Linked DNA regions of Homo sapiens: region 1 is linked to region 2. The links are contacts of gene promoters, found by promoter capture Hi-C in blood cells and fetal thymus (Javierre and others, 2016). All regions are on one chromosome and are shown on one strand. Each heading gives the region's core, a stretch centred on a gene start or on the middle of the fragment in contact. The rest is flanking DNA. Distances are from core to core; before and after follow the strand shown.

Evidence for each region. The method cuts DNA at HindIII sites, captures the fragments that hold promoters and counts their contacts. A CHiCAGO score of 5 or more calls a contact.
Region 1: a fragment that was not itself captured here is called in contact with the fragment with the promoter of SAMD8 in region 2 in 8 of 17 cell types (M0 macrophages, total B cells, megakaryocytes and 5 more); the score reaches 8.2 in M0 macrophages.

What each region holds. Positions count from the first base shown.
Region 1 is chr10:74,732,452-74,739,733 of GRCh38, reverse strand. No RefSeq gene overlaps it. Among named protein-coding and RNA genes, the nearest start is that of KAT6B, 91 kb to the left of the region's middle. RefSeq lists an enhancer at 324-413. The HindIII fragment of the contact is 212 bases long and covers 1,457-1,668 here.
Region 2 is chr10:75,106,257-75,113,557 of GRCh38, reverse strand. SAMD8 (sterile alpha motif domain containing 8) reads right to left here and starts at 1,902. Exons shown (of 6, transcript NM_001174156.2): 1 at 1,836-1,902. It overlaps DUSP13A (dual specificity phosphatase 13A), which reads left to right and starts at 4,401. Exons shown (of 3, transcript NM_001007271.3): 1 at 4,401-4,549; 2 at 5,349-5,566. The coding sequence starts at 4,401. It also overlaps a transcript of DUSP13B not described here. RefSeq lists enhancers at 1,194-2,142, 2,143-3,092, 6,967-7,016, 6,738-7,301 and a silencer at 1,816-2,155. The HindIII fragment of the contact is 16,308 bases long and covers 1-7,301 here.

The sequences.
Region 1 (7,282 bases), core at 313-2,812, 370 kb after region 2:
AATTACAGATGTGAGCCACCGTGCCCAGCCCCAACTTTAAAATTTAAGAATCATTCCTCTTACTTATCTGAGAACCTTTTAAGTACATGGGGTCTCTACTTGCAAGCAGCTCATATATTAGTTTTCTATTGCTGTGTAACAGATTGCCACAAACTTAGTAGCTTAAAACAGCACCCATTTATTATCTCACAGTTCTACACGCACAAACGATTTTTATAAATAGAGACAGGTTGCCCAGGCTGGTTTCAAACTCCTGACCTCAAGTTACTCCCCCGCTTTGTCCTCCCAAAATGTGGGGGTTACAGACGTGAGCCACCGCGCCTGGCCTCTCACAGTTCTGTAGTCAGAAGTCTGGTGGGTGGGCTTGGCAAGGTACTGTCCTTAGGGTCTCTAAATGCTGAAATCAAGGTGGCAGCAGGGCTTTGTTACTTCCTGGAGGCTCTGGGAAGGAAACTGCTAACAAGCTTATTCAGGCTGTTGGTCAAATTCAGCTCCTTGTGGTGCTAGGGCTGAGGTCCCGTTTCCTTTCTGTTGGCCTTGAGCCTCTTGAGGTTTCCTGTGCGCCTGGTCACGTTGCCCCTTCACCTTCAAAGCCAGCAAAGGCTCACTAACTCCTTCTCAAGCGTTGAATCTCTCTGACTTCTGCCTTATCTCTCCTGCCTCCTGCAGGAGAAAGTTCTCTGCTTTTAAAGGCTCACATGATTAGACTGGGCTCACTGGATCACCCAGAATAATCTCTGTATTTTAAGAACTGTCACCTTAATTACATCTGCAATGGCCCTTTTGCATGTTACATAATGTACTTACAGGTTGCAGGGATTGGGACATGGATCTTTGTGGGACCATTATGCCTGTCAGAGCTTTTATCTCTTTGTTTTCCATATAGAATATTTTAGGATAATTTTTTTCCCTTTATGTTTTTATTTTATTTTTGAGACAGGATTTCCCTCTGTCACCCATCTGGAGTGCAGTGGTGCAATCACGGCTCACTGCAACCTCTTCCTTATCACGGCTCACTGCAACCTCTTCCTTCCAAGCTCAAGAGACCCTCCCACCTCAGCCTCCCAAGGAGCTAGGACTAATACAGGCACATGCCACCACGCCTGGCTAATTTTTGTATTTTTTGTAGAGATGGGGTCTCCCTATGTTGCCCAGGCTAGTCTTGAATTCCTGGGCTCAAGCAATCCTCCAGCCAAAGTGTTGGGATTACTGGCATGAGCCAACTTGCCTGGCCAATTTTTTCCATTTAAGAGGAAATAGAAGACAGCTCCATCCTTTTGGAAAAAATGAACTGCCAGACACCATCAGGCCCCAAATTCACACAGCCATCATGCATTCAGCCTCTAACCATAAGTCCTTGATTCTGGCCTCAAACTCAGTAAAATTCATTTGTGCATTTAAGACTTGAGGCAGCCAAATTTTGACACACCATTAGGTGGCACTTGATTAGAAAGCTTGCTTCTGTCTGAACTTTCTCAAGGCAGCAATCCGACAAGAGGGCAAGGAAACTCTGAGGTCAAGGGCAGAGTAGGGCTGAGGTTCTTAGTGATTATGGGGAAGTCCTCACAGGCAAAAACTGTCCAAGACTTGAAAGTAATTTGTACATTCAAGTTGACTTTAGAGAACTTAAATATTACTTAGCAACTGTAAATAGACTATTTAAAAGCTTTTACACATGATATTTTAAGAAAGCATGGCATCAGCTGGGCATGGTGGCTCACACCTGTAATCCCAGAACTTTGGGAGGCTGAGGCGGATCGATTGCCCGAGGTCAGGAGATCGAGACCAGCTTGGCCAACATGGTGAACCCCGTCTCTACTAAACATACAAAAAATTAGCTGGGCATGGTGGCAGGTGCGTGTAATCCCAGCTACTAGGGAGGCTGAGGCAGGACAATTGCTTGAACCCGGAAGGCAGAGGTTGCAGTTAGCTGAGATCTCTAGCCTGGGCAACAAGAGCGAAACTCCGTCTCAAAAAAAAAAAAAAAAAAAAAAGCATGGCATCAAAAAAATCACTGTGTGTGTGTGTGTGTGTGTGTGTGTGTGTGTGTGTGTGTGTGTGTATTTTTTTTTTTTTTTTTTTGAGACAGAGTCTTGATCTGTTGCCCAGTCTGGAGGGTACTGGTGCAATCACAGCTCACTGCAGCCTCAACCTCCTGGGCTCAGGTGATCCTCCCACTTCAGCCTCCTGAGTAGCTGGGACTACAGGCGCATGCCACCACATCTGGCTAATTTTTGTATTTTTTGTAGAGACAGTGTTTCACCATGTTGCCTGGGCTGGTCTTGAACTCCTGGGCTCAAGCAATTCACCTGTCTCGGCCTCCCACAGTGCTGTGATTACAGGTGTGAGCCACCATGCCTGGCCACCACATTTGTCCTATGTTTAAAATGAGCAAATATTCAGGCCGGACATGGTGGCTCATGCCTGTAATCCCAGCACTTTGGGAGGCTGAAGCGGGTGGATCATCTGAGGTCAGAAGTTCGAGACCAGCCTGACCAACATGGAGAAACCCCATCTCTACTAAAAATGCAAAAGTAGCCTGGTGTGGTGGCACATGCCTGTAATCCCAGCTACTCAGGAGACTGAGGCAGGAGAATTGCTTGAACCCAGGAGACGGAGGTTGCAGTGAGCCGAGATTGCACCATTTCACTCTAGCCTGGGTGACAGAGTGAGACTCCGTCTCAAAAAAAAAAAAGGCTATTATGGAGATTCATGCACGAGTTTATTTCTGAGTATGCACATATGTTTTTATTTCTTCTGAGCCGATATGGAAAGGTGGAATTTCTGGGTTAGATGGCAACTCCACATTTAGCTTTCTGAGGAACCGCTCAACTGTTTGCCAAAGTGGCTGCACCATTTTACATGATCAACACATACGTAATTTTAAAAATGGCTTCATTAACATGTGATTGACATACAATAAAATGCACATATATTAAGTGTATGATTTGGTAAGTTTTGGCTTATGAATACACTCATAAAACCATCACCACAATCACTTCAAAGTCATCTATCACTCCAAAAATTTTCCTTGTACCCCTCTGAAATTCATTCTTCCCATATCTCATGATACAATTGTGAGACCTGAATTTGAGTATTTGTTGTTACTGTTGTTGTTTTGCATAGGAAAACAATTGTACCAGCACCATTTGGATAGTCCTATGCAAAATGACAACAACAGCAAATACTTAAACTCAGGTCTCACAATCTGTATCATGTCTATCTCATATACAAAAAATTGTCTCCAAATGGACCATCTCTCCCCACTCCATCATTCCATTATTTCCAAGTAATCACTGTTCTTTCTGTCATTATGGTTTAGTATGCATTTTCTAAAGTTTTAAATAAATGCAATCCTATAGTATTTTTTTTGGTCTAGCTGTGTGTTTCCTCTTTGTCTGGCTTTTTCCACTGAGTGTAATTATTTTAAGATTCACCTAAGATGTTGACTGTCTCAATAATCCATTCCTTTTTATTGATGGGTAATATTCCATTGAATGTATATACCACAATTTGCTTACTCATTCCCCTGTTGGTGGACATTTGGGTTGTTTCCAATCTAGGGCTATTCCAAATGAAGCTGCTATGAACGCTCATGCACAAGTCTTTTGCAGACATATATTTCATTTTTCTTGGGTAAATATCTGAGTGGAATGTTTCTGTTACGTGATAGCTATATTAATATTAAGCATTTAAGAAACTTCCAAACTGCTTTTGAAATGGCTGTGCCATTATATATCCTCACCCGCAGTGAATGGGAATTCTAATTCCTTCACATCCTCACCAATACTTCGTACGGCCAGTCTCTTTTTTTTTTTTTTTTTTTTTGAGACGGAGCTTCGCTCTTGTTGCCCAGGCTGGATTGCAATGGCATGATCTCGGCTCACTGCAACCTCTGCCTCCCGGGTTCAAGAGATTCTCCTGCCTCAGCCTCCCAAGTAGCTGGGATTACAGGCGCCTGCCACCATGCTCGACTAATTTTTGTATTTTTAGTAGCAACGGGGTTTCACCATGATGGCCAGGCTATTCTCGAACTCCTGGCCTCAAGTGATCTGCCACCTCAGCCTCCCAAAGTGCTGGGATTACAAGCATGAGCCACTGCACCCAGCCCAGTATTTTTAATTCTATTGATTCTAATAGGTGTGAAGAGGTACCTCTCTGTGGGTTTAATTTGCACTTCATGAGGTCAAGTGTCTTTTCATGTACTTATTTGGTGAAATATGTGTTCAAATCTTTGCCTATTTATAAAATTGGATTTTTTTAAACTTTGGTTTTGAGAGTTTTTTAAAAATATGTATATAACAATACATATGTTATCTATATAAAATATACTTATATATAAAACAAAATATATGTTATATATATAAAAATATACTTATATATAAAACAAAATATATGTTATATATAAAACTATATACATGTATGTGTATATATATGTATATACATATTTTTGAGACAGAGTCTCTCTCTGTTGCCCAGGCTGTAGTGTAGTGGTGCGATCTCAGCTCACTGCAAACTCCACCTCCCAGGTTCAAGCAATTCTCCTGCCTAAGCCTCCTGAGTAGCTGGGATTACCGGCGTGCCACTATGCCGGCTAATTTTTTGTATTTTTAGAAGAGACAGGGTCTCACCATGTTGGCCAGGCTGGTCTTGAACTCCTGACCTCAAGTGACCTACCCACCTTGGCCTCCCAAAGTGCTGGGTGTTATACATTATTGATAGAAGTCTTTTATCAAATATGAGCTTTGCAAAAATATTCTCCTATTCTGTGGCTTACCTTTTCATATTCTTAATAGTTTCTTTTGAATAGCAGAGATTTTCAATTTTTATGAAGTCCAAAATATCAATTTGTCCTTTTTAGGATTGTGTTTTGGTATCATATCTAAATTTTTTTTTGCCTAATGGACGACCAAAATTTTCTCCAGTTTTTGTTTCTGTAGTTTTTTAGTTTTAGATTTTTAACAATCAATTGCCACATAATTAAAATTTCAGAAACCCATAGATTTATGATCAATTGTTTTTTTTCAACCAGGGTGCCAAGAAATAGCCTTTTCAACAAATAATGATGAAAAATTGGATATTCACATATGAAAGGAATGTGGACCTCTAACTCACACCATACACAAAAACTAACTCAAAATTACTTATAGATCTAAATTTAAGAGCTAAAACTATAAAACACGTAGAAGAAAATGCAGAATATTTGTGACTTTGGGCTAGGCAATGGTTTCTTAGATATAACAAAAGCACAAATAACAAAAGAAAAAAAAATCTATAGCTAAGTTAGAAACTTTTGTGCTACAGATGATACCATCAAAAAACTGAAAAGACAACTTACAGAATTGGAGAAAACATCTGCAGATCATATGAAGGAATTGCATCTAGAACATACAAAAATACAATTCAACAATTAAAAGACAAAAAAACCCCAATTTAAAAATGAGCAAAGGATTTGAAAGTACATCTGAAGAAGTTATATAAATGGTGAATAACACATGAAATGATGCTCAACACCATTAGTCATTAGGGAAATGCAAATCATAACCACAATGAATTACCACTTCGTATCCACTATGATGGCTATAATAATTTTTAAAACACAGAAAATTACAAGTGTTCGTTAATGAGGATGTGGAGAAACTGGAAACCTTGTACATTGCTGGGAATGTAAAATGGTGCAGTCACCGTGGAAAACCATTTGGTGGTTCCTCAAAAAGTTAAACATAAAATTACAAGACGACTCTTCAACTCTACTCCTAGACATATAATCAAAAGAATTGAAAACAGAGACTCAAGCAGATATTTGTATGCTAATGGTCATTGTAGCACTGTTCACAATAGCCAAACAGTGGAAACAACCCAGTGTCCATCAACTGATAAACAAAATGTACTGCACACATACAGTGGAATAGTATTCAGCCACAAAAAAGGAATGACATTCTGATACATGCTACATCATGGGTGAATCTTGAAAACATTATACTAAGTGAAATAAGCTAGACAAATATTGTATTATTCCACTTATAATATTTATAATAGGCAAATTTATAGCAACAGAAAGTAAATAATAGGTTACCAGGGGTTGGGAGTGAGGAGAGATGGGTAGTTAACAGGTGCAGAGTTTCTGTTTGGGGTGCTGGAAAAGTCTTGGAAATAGAAATAGTGGGGATGATTGCAAAACATTGTGAATGTAATTAGTGCCACTAAATTGTGCTCTTAAAATGGTTAAAATGACGGTCGGGCGTGGTGGCTCGTGCCTGTAATCCCAGCACTTTGGGAGGCCAAGGCGGGCAAATCACGAGGTCAGGAGATCGAGACCATCCTGACTAACACGGTGAAACCCCGTCTCTACTAAAAATACAAAAATTTAGCTGGGCAGCTGAGGCAGGAGAATGGCGTGAACCCGGGAGGCGGAGCTTGCAGTAAGCCGAGATCGCTCCACTGCACTCCAGCCTGGACAACAGAGCGAGACTCCGTCTCAAAAAAAAAAGGGGGGGGGCGTTAAAATGACATATTTTATGTTACATTTATTTTACCACAATAAGCAAACAGACAAATGCATAATGAGATACCATTTCATGTTCACTAGCATGGCTATAATAAAAAAAGACAGGCAATAATGAGTGTTGGCAAGGATATGGAGAAATTGAAACCTTAGTGAACTTCTGGTGGGAATGTAGCCTTTTGTAGCTGTTTTGAAAAACAGTTTTGCAGTTTCTTAAAAAGTTAAACATATCATTTTCATACAATCCAGCAATTCCACTCCTACTTATCAACCCAAGAGAAATGAAAACATATGCTCACACAAAAACTTGTACACAAATGTCCCTAGCAGCATTATTGTAATAGAACCAAAGTGGAAATAACTCCAGTATTTATCAACCAATGAATGAATAAACAAAATGTGATATATCCTTACAAAGGAATATTATTTGGCAAGTGAAAGGAATGAAGTACTGATACACACTACAACATAGATGAACCTTGAACAAATTATGCTAAGAGAAAGAAGCCAGTTACAGAAGACTAAATATTGGATGCTTTCATTTTATAGAATATTGGTAAGAACCAAATCTGTAAAGACAGAAAGATTAGCTGTTGCTTAGGGCTGAGGAGGAGACAGTAGGGGAAATGAGGAGTTATTGCTAATAAGTACAAGGTTTCTTTCTGGGTGGACAAAAATTTTCTATAGATTGTGGTGATGGTTGTCCAACCCAGGGAACTTACTTAAAACATTTGACTTAGGCTGGGTGAGGTGGCTCATGCTACTGGAATCCCAGCA
Region 2 (7,301 bases), core at 653-3,152:
TTTAGATTTAATCAAGCATTTAGAAAACGCTTGATGCTAACAAAAATTAGCCAGCCATGGTGGCGCCCACCTGCAGTCCCAGCTACTCCCAGCTACTTGGGAGGCTGAGGTGGGAGGATCACTTAAGCCTGGGCAACACAGCGAATCTCTGTCTCAAAAAAAAAAAAGAAAGGAAAGAAAAGAAAAGAAGGAAGAGAAAAGAAATGGCCAACAACTTTACAAACCTATAATCACATAAAAAGTTGTAAAACATATGAGACATGTGGCTAAAGTCAAAGACTTCATGGAACCATGTTATGACTTAACAATCACAAAAGGAAGTCAATTTATCTCTACTAAAGTGAATATAAATATTGCAATCATTCTTTTTCTGGCATAATTATGTTTTGGAACTATGTCTTCTATAAAAAGCATCTGTATACCCACCTGTCCCAGTTGTGTTGGCTGCCAACTACAAGCATCCTCTGTCCTTATTTTTCCAAATCACTCTACTAAAAATACTATTCACACAATACCTGCAAAATAGTATTTCAATATTGGTTTTGCCAATCAGTCAAAGGTACCTCTCCAATTTTCAAGAGATAAGTCCAATCCTGGGGTTATCAGTGAGAGGAAGATTTGGTATTGCGCCTAGACTGTGGCAAGTTCACTGTGCCCCCTTCACCCAGAAACTTGCATTGACCATACATTTACTATGTGGCAAATACATGTGTCAACTTAAAACTTTGAAAGTGGAACCAGTCCATGTTGAGTATCTGTAAAATCCAAGTGTCCAAATTCTTGTTTCAAGTTTAATTTTTAAAATCTGAGTATCCAAAGTCTTGTTTCAAGTTTTTAAAACTTAAAGGTAATATAGTAAATTTTTAGGATCTTAACATGTCTGGTATTTAAACTTAGCTACGAAAAAATTACAATGAAAAAAAGGACACCATTACTGTCAATAAATCCAAATGATATCTTCATTTTCAGAATCACGTCTTCCACTACCTTCTTCAAACATCACTTCCTCTCCACTACTTCCCCCAGTCCTTTAGGCAAATCAGTGATTCACACCGCCCCTTCCACCCAAGATTCTTAAAATGATCCACTGTGCACGAACGAGAAAGCCCCACGATCCAAGTACATTGCCCTAGTGATCTTTGATGTTTTAAAAGGCACCTGTAAAAATGCCAAAGCCCAAAATTAGATCCCCAAGGGCTCCTTTTCTTTCTTGACCACACTTCTCTTTTTCAGTGCCTCCCTCACCCCTTGAGGCCAGACGATTTCCCATCCAACAGCCCTCCTCCTTCTAGTCAAACCTAAATCCTGCCCTCCATCACCACCAGCCCCACCCGGGGTGGGAGGCGGATAAGAGGGCTCCGTAAGAGGAGAACCCCATGAGAGGGCTCCAGTCCCAGCCCCGATCGCCCTCCCTCGCCCTGGGAAGGGAACACCGGCCCAGGTCTTGCTCCTCTGACTCCTCATCCCCGCTGCCAAACCCAGAGCATCTCTTCTTCCGGGTCCACATTCCCGCAGGACCTTCGATCTTTTTCCCCCACTGCGCAGCTTTCAAAAGCCCCCAAGCTCTGGGCTCTTCAAGCCTCCCCCTCTCGCTCTCTCCCTCTCGTTCCTCGGCCTCCACTTATCCCTCAGCCTTCAGGCCCTCAGTTCGACAACCTCCATTTGCTTCAGATTCCATTCCAGAGCTGACTATCCCGGTTCCCTCAACCGTCTCCCCGGGGCCCCTCCAGGTCGCGGTCCCTCGGCAGCCCCCGGCTCCATCCCAGACTCCCCACTCACCCTTGGCAGCAGGCGCCCCCCAAGCTCCCCTCTCCTCAGCCTCAGCTCCCGCTCACCTCCGCGGTCCGAGTCGGGCTCCCCGGACCCACCTCCGAGTCGGCGTCCGAGCCGCCGTCGGAGTCCGGGGCCCTCCCCGCCTCGCCGGAGTGAAGCGCCTCAAGCGGCGGGGGCGGAGCCCGGGGCGGGGAGCCGGAGTGGAGGCGGGGGCGGTGGCGACTGCGCGCAGGCATCGTCCCGGCCGCCGTCACCGCCGCGCCGGCAGCTGCTCGGAGCCGAACCGGAACTGCTTCGGGAGGCGGGGCCCTACCGGCCGGGGACGGGGTTCTACCGGCAGGGGGCGGGGCCCACACTGGAAAAGACGCGAGGCTCCAGATGGGCCCGAGAGGAGAACCGAGATGCTGCCGCGGAGGAGCCCGAGGGCGCATGCGTCATGCCGGAGGCCAAAGCGACAGGAGGAAGCGGGGCTAGCGGAGCCGGGGCGGGGCCTGTGGGATCAGTAAATGGGGTTAGGGCCTAGAAGGAGGTAATCCGAATTCCTCTGGAGAGAGCCAGCTCTTCTCCAATAGCCAGCCCCCAATGATCATTGTTATAATTTATTGCCCATTTACTCTTTGACAGTGTCTATGCCAAACGCCATATAAACATCTCATTTAATCCTTGTGCTAAGGCCGGGAGCGGAGGCTCACGTCTGTAATCCCAGCACTTTGGGAGGCTGAGGCGGGATCACCTGAGGTCAGGAGTTCGAGACCAGCCTGGCCAGCATGGGGAAACCTCGTCTGTACTAAAAATACAAAAATTAGCCGGGCGTGGTGGTGCATACCTGTAATCCCAGCTACTCGGGAGGCTGAGGCAGGAGAATCGCTTGAACCCGGGAAATGGAGGTTGCAATGAGCCGAGATCACGCCATGGCACTCCAGCCTGGGCGACAAGAGCAAACTCCATCTCAAAAAAAAAATCCTAGTGCTAATTCTGCAAGGGGGATCCTATAGCACAGAAAAGTAAAGAAACATACTGCCTGACATATTGCAAACTGATATTCCAACCCAAATCTCTCTAACATCAGATCCTGTATTTTCCTCACTCCACCATGCTGCACCACCCTGAGGGAAGGTCTCCTCCCAAGCCAGGTCTAGCATTGGCATAAACCAAGTCCAAACCCAGCTGTAACCTGGACACGAGCCCCTCCTTGGTCTTGCCTCCCCACACAGTGCCGGGCCGACTTCAATGGTTCTGAATGGGATAGACATGAGTGTAGACTGCTTCCATGGGATGCCCTGGTGTGGCCTTTCCCTTCAAACTGGTCTTAAGGCCAAGGGCAGCTGGGAACCTCCCCACTGCAGCTCATACCCTTCCCAGCTCCATTAGGGCCACTGAGAAGTCACATGAGAGAGGGTGAGACATCTCATCTCTCTTGCTGATAACCAGCTCTGGCAGAAGGACAGGTTGACCTTTCTCAGTTTCTATTTTGGGACCCAAAGCCCTTATAGGCAGAGGAATCTCCCTCCCACTGTTTCTGATGACAGTTAGCCCCTTTGGCTCTCAAAGTCTAGGGCAACACTCACCTCCCGTCTCCCCATTTGACATACAAGGCCCTCTTCAGCCTTCTCTTCTGAGAAGTTAGCCATCTTCACTACAGGACCATTGTTCAAACCTTGCCCCATTGGCCCGGCACGGCGGCTCACACCTGTAATCCCAGTACTTTGGGAGGCCGAGGCAGGCTGATCACTTGAGGTAGGAGTTCAAGACCAGTCAGACCAACATGGCAAAACCCCATCTCTACTAAAAACACAAAAATTAGTGTGGCATGGTGGCACATGCCTGTAATCCTAGCTACTCAGGAAGCTAAAGCAGGAGAATCACTTGAACCTGGGAGGTGGTAGTGGCAGTGAGCCAAGATGATGCCACTGCACTCCAGCCTGGGTGACAGAGTGAGACCCTGTCTAAACAAAACAAAACAAAAAAAAACACCTTCCCCCTCCCCCCATGAATCTTGTGGGCACCCTTTAAAGGAAGCTCTCCATGTCTCTTACCCATATTTCTCTGACTCTACAACTCAGAAAACTGTCCCTGACCTCCGTAATTCAGAGACTCATCCAACAGACATCCAATCCAGCTCCTGCCCAATTTGTGGCCCACCTAGACTGTACACTTCTTTCAGTTCTTTCTATCATTCATCCTTGGAACCAGCCACCTCCTCTGCACCCTGGATCTCTACTTTAACTCAGTCCTCAGAACCTAATAGCCTTAGGCAGGGCTCTACATCTACTAATTCCACAGATGTTTCTAAGCACCTACTATGTGTCAGACCCAGCATGTCCTTTGTTTCATCTAATCCTCAAATTCTCTGAGGTAGGTGTGATTATCCTTACTTTACAGATGAAGAAACTGAGGTTCAGGGTGGTAGCTGACTTGCAGAGGTCTCTCTGATTCTGTGTTCTCATGGAGTTTGGGGGTGGGGGGAGGCTTGGGGAGGAAAAGGTCTTGTCCACTCCAGAGGCCCCTGTGACTTGCTGAGTCACTTGCTTCTGTCACCTGTCCCTGTCAATCTCTGGGAAGGAGAAATGACACTGGAGAGGCAGAGAGGAGTGACCACAGAGGCAGAGGGGTGGGCGGGCTGGCCCATGGCTGAGACCTCTCTCCCAGAGCTGGGGGGAGAGGACAAAGCCACGCCTTGCCCCAGCATCCTGGAGCTGGAGGAGCTCCTGCGGGCAGGGAAGTCTTCTTGCAGCCGTGTGGACGAAGTTTGGCCCAACCTTTTCATAGGAGATGCGTGAGTGGTAGCTGGCCAAGGGGCATGGGGGTGGGGACGTGGAGAGGCAGTTCTTGGTCGCTTTACCAGACACAGGAGGGTGGAAACAAGGAGAAATAGCTCTGCTCTGACCATCCCAGGCCAGGGACCTTCTCCAGGACCCCCGGGGGTGCTGAGGTCAGTGCAGTGACCAGGTATGGCCACCAGGGAGAGCAGGGACTTCGCCTGCCTGAAAGCAGGGAGTCTCCCAGGAGTTCCAGGAAACATTTCCAGGACAACTGTCAAGTGTAGAGGCAGAGGCCCAGGAAATAGTATTTGGGGCATGAGATAAGGTAGACAGAGAGCCCCCTGTTTCTGGGCCCAGCCTCCCTCCTCTGGATACAGACGGTGGAGAAGCCTGACTGAAGGTGAATCAGAGAAGGTGTTGCCTCTAAACATTTGTAGGTTAGAAGCAGGTATGAGGTGGTAGCCAGTAGAGGACGGATATGCGTGGGAGGACATGGGGCAAGAAGGGAGGGGCAGCCAGGTTCCAGGGCTGAAGCAATCCCTTCCTTCCTGTCCTGGCCAAGGCAGGGACAGATGCATTGAGGAAGCAAAGAGGGTCTAAAGATCCCCCGACACACACACCGCCGGCTCAGCCACCAGAAAGTGCGGGGCTCTGGGTATAGGGCTGTGGAGTCAGACCCCACTTGGAGCTTGCTGGGGTTGGACTCTCTTTGGACCCTAATGGCTCGGTCCCTCTGCAGCAGGGGGCCAGGCACAGCCTCCCTCCTGGTCCCATGGCTTGGCCGGCATCAAGTGCCCTTCCTGCCCTCCCCAGGGCCACGGCAAACAACCGCTTTGAGCTGTGGAAGCTGGGCATCACCCACGTGCTGAACGCCGCCCACAAGGGCCTCTACTGTCAGGGCGGCCCTGACTTCTACGGCAGCAGTGTGAGCTACCTGGGGGTGCCAGCCCACGACCTCCCTGATTTTGACATCAGTGCCTACTTCTCCTCTGCGGCTGACTTCATCCACCGTGCCCTCAACACGCCTGGGGGTAGGACTTGGGGTCCAAGCCCATATCCCATCTTGCTCATTCATGGGGAGGATGCCTCATTTCCTCTCAGTCATCAGTGCCCTCCCATCCCTGCTTTTTAAAAATCCTCTGCTTAGGCCGTGTGTGGTGGCTCATGCTTGTAATCCTAGCACTTTGGGAGGCCGAGGTGGGTGGATCGCCTGAGGTCAGGAGTTCAAGACCAGCCTGGCCAACACGGTGAAACCTCGTCTCTACTAAAAATACAAATATTAGCCGGGCATGGTGGCACCCACCTATAATCTCAGCTACTCTGGAGGCTGAGGCAGGAGAATTGCTTGAACATGGGGGGCGGAGGTTGCAGTGAGCCGAGATCATGCCACTTCACTCTAGCCTGGGCAAAAGGGCGAAACTCCATCCCCCCCCGCCAAAAAAAAGTCCTCTGCTTAGTGCTCCAGCATTTTGTCGAACCCGATTCCTTCCCAGATGGGGAAACTGAGGCCTGGAATACAAGGTCATGCCATGAGTTAGGAGCAACCCTGAGGCTGAAAGCCATTTCTCCCAAACAGCAGAACAGCTCTTTCTCTGCAACACTCAACTTTGGGAAAGCACCATTTGGTACCTAGATGTCTGCCCCAAAGTACTTTTTTTCTCCTTTTTTTTTTTTTTCTGAGACAGAGTCTCAGTGCTACCCAAGCTGGAGTGCAGTGGCGCGATCTCTGCTCCTCCGCCTCCTGGGTTCAACCTCTGCCTCTGGGCTTCAAGCAATTTTCGTGTCTCAGCCTCCCAAGTAGCTGGGACTACAGGCATCCGCCACCATACCCGGCTAATTTTTGTATTTTAGCAGAGACAGGGTTTCACCATGTTGGCGAGGCTGGTCTCGAACTCCTAACCTCAAGTGATCTGTCTGCCTCGGCCTCCCAAAGTGCTGGGATTATAGGCATGAGCCACCGCACCCGGCCCCCAAAGTACTTTTAACTAGAAAAGAAATATATCTTCAAATACTCAGGATACAGCATAGGAGCCCAGGGAGGCTGGTGTCCTGGCTTTGTGTCCATCCTAGAAGACAGCTGTGTCCCTCACTGTGTGACCCTGGGCAAGCCAGTGTCCCTTTCTGGACTTCAGTTTCCTCATCTATGTGACAGGAATGACAAGATTACAGCTCACATGACTTTTTAGTATCCAACACACTTTGACATTCTTTTGCTATTTATCCATTCATTCACCAGCTATTTACTGAGTATCCACTACGTGCCTGGCACTGAGCTAAATACTGGGAATCCAGACTTTAAGAAGCAGGATCCCTGCCCTCTTGGAACTGGTGGAAAGACAGCCAAATTGCGAATAGTATAGTGAGAGCTACTCATAAGAGTGGGCCAGTGTGGAGGGCTCTGGGAGCACACGGCGGGGGTGCTAAGCCCAGAGGATCGGGAAGGTGGGGGGACTTCCCTCTACAAAGGTATCCATGGGTAATATGCAAAAAAGATGAGCTGCTTTGTGATTCAAGCAATACTTTGAGCGGTCAAGAAAGCCTGTGGAGGAAGCCGTGTCTCAGCCAAAACCTGGTGGATGAGTAGTGGAAGTTAGTCAGACCGAGACCAGGGGAAACAATTTGCAGGTATTTGGAATAGCATGTGGTAAGGCTGGAGGTCAGAAACCATGGCAGCCTCAAGGAACTGCAAGTTCCTCCATGTTTCTCGAGCTGAAGGTGGGGGAGGGACAATCTGAGATGAGGCGACAGGGGCCAGCTCTTGAAGTG